2 separate regions of the Homo sapiens genome follow, and region 1 is linked to region 2. The links are contacts of gene promoters, found by promoter capture Hi-C in human tissues and cell types (Jung and others, 2019). All regions are on one chromosome and are shown on one strand. Each heading gives the region's core, a stretch centred on a gene start or on the middle of the fragment in contact. The rest is flanking DNA. Distances are from core to core; before and after follow the strand shown. Region 1 overlaps UBE2R2 (ubiquitin conjugating enzyme E2 R2). Region 2 holds the start of RPP25L (ribonuclease P/MRP subunit p25 like).

The links. The method cuts DNA at HindIII sites, captures the fragments that hold promoters and counts their contacts. A contact is called where the count stands out against the background at its distance.
Region 1: a contact is called between a fragment that was not itself captured here and the fragment with the promoter of RPP25L in region 2, in 1 of the 25 tissues and cell types used here (pancreas).

What each region holds. Positions count from the first base shown.
Region 1 is chr9:33,898,415-33,901,114 of GRCh38, forward strand. UBE2R2 (ubiquitin conjugating enzyme E2 R2) reads left to right here. Exons shown (of 5, transcript NM_017811.4): 3 at 1,760-1,857. Among named protein-coding and RNA genes, the nearest start is that of SNORD121B, 35 kb to the right of the region's middle. The HindIII fragment of the contact is 5,505 bases long and covers 1-2,700 here.
Region 2 is chr9:34,610,750-34,613,449 of GRCh38, forward strand. RPP25L (ribonuclease P/MRP subunit p25 like) reads right to left here and starts at 1,348. Exons shown (of 2, transcript NM_148178.3): 1 at 1,315-1,348; 2 at 1-583. The coding sequence starts at 547. The coding sequence ends at 56. RefSeq lists enhancers at 266-819, 1,923-1,972, 2,100-2,149 and a silencer at 1,283-1,522. The HindIII fragment of the contact is 7,953 bases long and covers 1-2,700 here.

The DNA.
Region 1 (2,700 bases), core at 128-2,627, 710 kb before region 2:
CCTTATGGTATCTAACCATAAGGCAGTGTGTTAGAATATAATATTTTGTATTAATTTTATTTTAAAAATATTTTATATTGATAATGGTTACATATATATTCATATAGTTTCTATGTGTCTAAATTTGGGTTGTATATGTAAGATTTTTGCACTTTATATAGTTATACCTCCAGTTTTTTAAAAATATAAATCTTAAGTCGTGTGTGGTAGCACACCCTAGAGTCCCAGCTATGGGACTACTGAGGTGTGAGGATCACTTGAGGCCAGGAGTTAGTGGCTGCAGTGCACCATGGTTGTCTTATGCATAATCACTGCACTACAGCCTAGGTAACATAGTGAGACTCCCATCTCTAAAGACAGAAAGAAGTTAAATAAATAAATAAATCTTACCTTCCATGTTAGGCTAAGTCCAAGAGATAAGTCACTGTATTTTACCTAACTTTATCTTTTCTATTGAATTGTGTTCTGTATTGCACATGGTGGGCAATCCATATGTGTATGAATTAACCTAAATGTACTTGTGGATTAAGTTGTGTTAAGTTTATGAAGCAAAATATAATAGCCATAGTGGGAAGTCATTCTAACCATACCTTGAGGATGTTAACATTTGCTGCGAGGCATATTTTTGGTTTATATAAGTCATGGTTATTGACATAGCATCTATCTGAGTAGATATTAAGCAAGGTTAGATATTTTTTCTTCCTTTTTATGTACTCTAGGTACACAGATATATCTGAAAACAAAGGGATATATATTTGGCTGCTTCTAAGACAATTGAGTCTTGATTTATTATGTTTGTCTTTTTTTTTTTAAGATGGAGTCTCATTGTGTTGCCCAGGCCGGAGCACTATCTTGGCTCACTGCAACCTCCGCCTCCCGGGTTCAAGCGATTCTCCTGCCTCAGCCTCCTGAGTAGCTGGGATTACAGGCGCGTGCCACCACGCCCGGCTAATTTTTGTCTTTTGTTTTTGTTTTTTTGAGACGGAGTCTCCCTCTGTTGCCCAGGATGGAGTGCATTGGCGCGATCTTGGCTCCCTGCAACCCCCACCTCCCAGGTTCAAGCGATTCTCCTGCCCCAGCCTCCTGAGTAGCTGGGATTACAGGGGAGTGCTACCACGCCCGGCTAATTTTTGTATTTTTAGTAGAGACGGGGTTTCACCATGTTGTTCAGGCTGGTCTCGAACTCCTGACCTTGTGATCTGCCCACCTTGGTCTCCCAAAGTGCTGGGATTACAGGCGTGAGCCACCGCGCCCAGCCAATTTTTGTATTTTTGGTAGAGATGGGGTTTCGCCATGCTGGTCTCAAACTCCTGACCTCAGGTGGTCCACCCGCCTTGGCCTCCCAAGTGCTAGGATTACAGGCGTGAGACACCGCGCCCAGCCCCAGTCAATTTTTTATCAGGATTGTACTATAGGAATAGTAAGTCTTCTCACTAGAAAATATACCTTGGAGATTGGTCGAAATAAATATTATATTTTAATGTTCCTAAGTAAACATAGGGATCGTTTGTTTCATCAGGATTGTTCTATAGGAATAGTAAGTCTTCTCACTAGAAAATATACCTTGGAGATTGGTCAAAATAAATACTTTTAAAATGCTTAATTATTATTTATCTTTGATGTTGAACATAAAAAGCAGAATTGTTTTCTCCTTTGATGAAGAAACAGTTTCTAGGAATAAAGGAAACTTTAGAACCGATGTCCCTTTTTGTACATCACTTTTTGAGTATTTACTGAATGTAATGTTTGTGTCTTGTAGAATGGAGATGTATGCATTTCGATTCTTCATCCGCCTGTAGATGACCCACAGAGTGGAGAACTGCCTTCTGAAAGGTGGAATCCTACTCAGAATGTGAGGTAAGGAGGAATCTGGTTTTGGAGTTATTCTTAATCTCCTTATTGTCTTTGCTCCTAGTAAAATAAAATTATGTATTGTCTTTTAACATGTAAAAAATCATCTTTCTTATATTCAGTTTCTTTGTCTTTAGCTAGAGCTTTAAGAAATATGTATGCGTCATTTTGAAGAGCTGTATTTACTAAACAATAATGTATATGATTCTCATTTCCCTATGTTCACTTAGGAATAGATTTTCAAGCCTGAATCCCTACTCTTAACTTATCCTAGTTCTACTCTGGTTCTTTATTACCACCTAACATTAGTGTCATTCATTGGTTGCAGTTAATAAACAATGTTAATTCATTATAAGTAACTGAAGTCCATACGCTTTCACATTTCCTTTGTTTTTACCTGTCGTTGTTTTGCTCCAAAATATTTCATACATATAAATATATATCTATATATGTACGTGTATACATATATGTATTTAAATTTTTTGTAGAGATGGGGTCTCACTAAGTTGCCCAGCTGGTCTCAAACTCCTGGCCTCAAGCAGTCCTCCCCACTTGGCCTCCCAAAGCGCTGGGATTATAGGCATGAGCCACTGTGCCCTGCTCATCACATTATATTTAATAGTCATGTCTTCATGGGCAACTCCTCTCTCTCTCTGTCTCTGTCTCTCTCTCTCTCTCTGTTTCTGTCTGTGTCTCTGTCTCTTGTCTTTGAGACAGTGTCTTCCCGTCACCCAGACTGGTGTGCAGCGGTGTGATCACAGGTCACTGCAGCCTCGACCTCCTGGGCTCAAGTGAGCCTTTCACCTCAGCCTCCCAAGTAGCTGTGACTATAGGTGTATGCCACCATAC
Region 2 (2,700 bases), core at 98-2,597:
AGGCACAAGCACCCCAGACATTCAGGCCCGGAGAACAGGCTGGCTCAGCAGGTCTTCACGATCGGGTGTCTCGAGCCCTTCTTCGGGAACGAGGGCCACAGCTGGAGCTGGGCATGGAACCCAGGCCAGGGGGTGCTCCTGGGGGTTGGTAACCACACTCATTGGGGTCCAGGGGGTCCCGGCTGAGCAGCACCCACACTGCAGGCACATGGCGGCGCACTGTGAGGGGGTCTAGCCCTGTGTCAGGTGAGGCTGGGACCCAGCTGTCCTCAGTCTGAAGGAAACGTAGCTTGGTGAGCTGGTGCAGGCCTGGGACCCGCCGCTTGACAATCTCAGCGCAGCTGACAGCCTTTCCTGCAGCCCTGCCAGAACCTGAGAACACTACATGCCGAGCACTGCCGCCCTCCAACCGACCCAGAGCCAACCCCAGCAGGTTGCGAATTTTGCTGCCATCTCGGACCCGCATCTCAAGGGTATCAGGAGGTAGCTGGGGCATTGGGGAAGGCGCTGGGAGCTCTACAGAGCCAGCTTTCCGGTAGTGCTCCATCCTGCTTGCTGTCTTGTCTGTGACTCTCGCTGCCCACTGCAGGGAAGCATCAGGTAAGTGCTAAGCAATGTGCCCCAAGTCACTGTCCACCATCCCCTATCTCCATCCAGGATATGGCCCTGCTCCCCGTTCCAGACTTCCCAGAAACAGGATCATGTCCCCTTGTCCTTAGCATCTCGTGACAAGGTCCATGCCTGCCGCAGTCTGGGAAAGGGCTGTACCCCATACACCCCGTTCCTCTACAAGGGCCATAACACCCCCACCTCCAATCCTGGAGTCCAAGAGGCAGGATCACATTCCCCAAACACTGAGCTCTTTGGGAAAGTGCCAGGCCCCCTCATCCTAAACTCTCCAGGACTGGGGCTTAGCCCCCCTTATCCTGGGCTCCTTGGAACAGGGCCTGGAACCCTCACCCCAGACTAATACCAATAGAGAGCGCTCCTCACTTGGGGCTCTACAAGGACAGGGACAAGGCCCTTCGCCCCAGGCCCCCCGGGAAACAGCCAAGAACCCTTATCCAGTGCTGCCCCCAAACAGAACGGATCCCCTCTCCCAGAGATTACCAAGGTCAATCTATATCAACCCAGGTCACTCAGAAACTCGGGGGCAGAGGCTCGACTCGGAGGGCTGCTCAGGACATTCCAAGACAGCCTTGGCCGTTTCCATAGCCACGGTCTCTTCCAGGGTCTTGCCGGCCGCTGCAGCCAAGCCACAGGCGTCCCCCAACCCTACGAGCGCCCCTCTGCCCGCCCGGTTCCGGCTCTCACCGAAGCCGCCTCACGCACGATCCGGAGCCAAGATGGCGCGCGGGCCCGGAGCGCACTAAGGCCGCGGGGCCGCGCACGCCCCGAGGGGGCGGGGCGTGAGGGGCGGGGCGTGAGGGACGGGCCCCGAGGCATCTCCGCCGCGGAAACAACCCGCTGGCCAGAGCGCCCCGGACCAGTCCCAGCGGGGATGGGAACACGAGCGCAGCCTCCGCTGTTACGCCCCGGAGGGAGGCAGGACAGTTCCCTGCGGTAGAAAGGAGCGGCCGTCGGGGAAGTCCTGCGTCTGAAGGAGGGGGATCTGGCCCTTAGAAGATGGGAGGGCTGGCGTTAGCTGTTGAGCAAACGGGGAGCTGTGGGTTTCACCGTGGGTGCGAACAAAGGCTTCAGTTTGTAGTGGCTGCTGTTGCATGGGCGAGAGCCTTAGTTACCGACTTCTGAGCTTCGACCTCATCCTGTGGGCGCTGGCGGACCACGGGGGTTTTCCGGGTTTTCCAGGGGCCAGTCGAACCAGATCTTGTGCAGGGAGCCGAGGAGGGAGTGGTGGGGAAATCGGGCCACAGCCCCTGACGACACCTGCCGCGGAGTCTGGGGGCTGAGGGGGCGGGGGTGCCCACGGAGCCTAGTATGGTGCCTGGCGTATGACCGGCGCTCAATATTTGTTAAATGATTTGTTACATTAATGAACCAGAGAAATCGCGGTGGGAATGGAAAAAAGATTAAGTTGGGAGATACTAGTAGGTTCAGTGACGAGTTGGCCACTGTTTGGACGGAGAAGTAGGAAATTCCGATCTAGGGTGACTCCCAGGTTTCAGATCGGTTTGGACACGCTGAATTTGAGGTGCCGGAGAGGTCGCAAAGGCGGGGCGGCCAATGGGCCGTTGGAAAAAGGGTCTGGAGCCAGAGCACTCCCTGAGACCACAAGGGGGCAGCAAACATTTGGTGGACTACGGTGCCAATCTGTTTCTCAACATGCTTGCCCCAGCGCCCCTACTTCCCAACTTCCCCTCCCCAGGACCAAAACTTCCTGCATCCAAACCTCTTAGGCTGCCCTTCTCGGCTCGTGGCAGCAGGTAGGCTCCCAAGAGAGAAATTTAAAGGCCTTTGCACATGCTGCTCCCTTGGCTCTGAAAGTCCCTGGATATCACTTACCAGGTCCCTTCAGTCCCTTTTTTCTTCTGTGTCCACCTGATAGGACTGCCCTTTTCCTTTACTGTCTATCCTGCTAGCCCGTGCAGGGCAGGGATTAGCCCTATCTACTCCCATCATCTGACATTTGGAGGTCTCTTATTGGTAAATGTGGGATAAATGGATACATAAAGGAATATCCTATTCACATAATCAAATGAGAGCCTTCATTTTGAGAGCTCTACACCTGCCAGAAAGCCA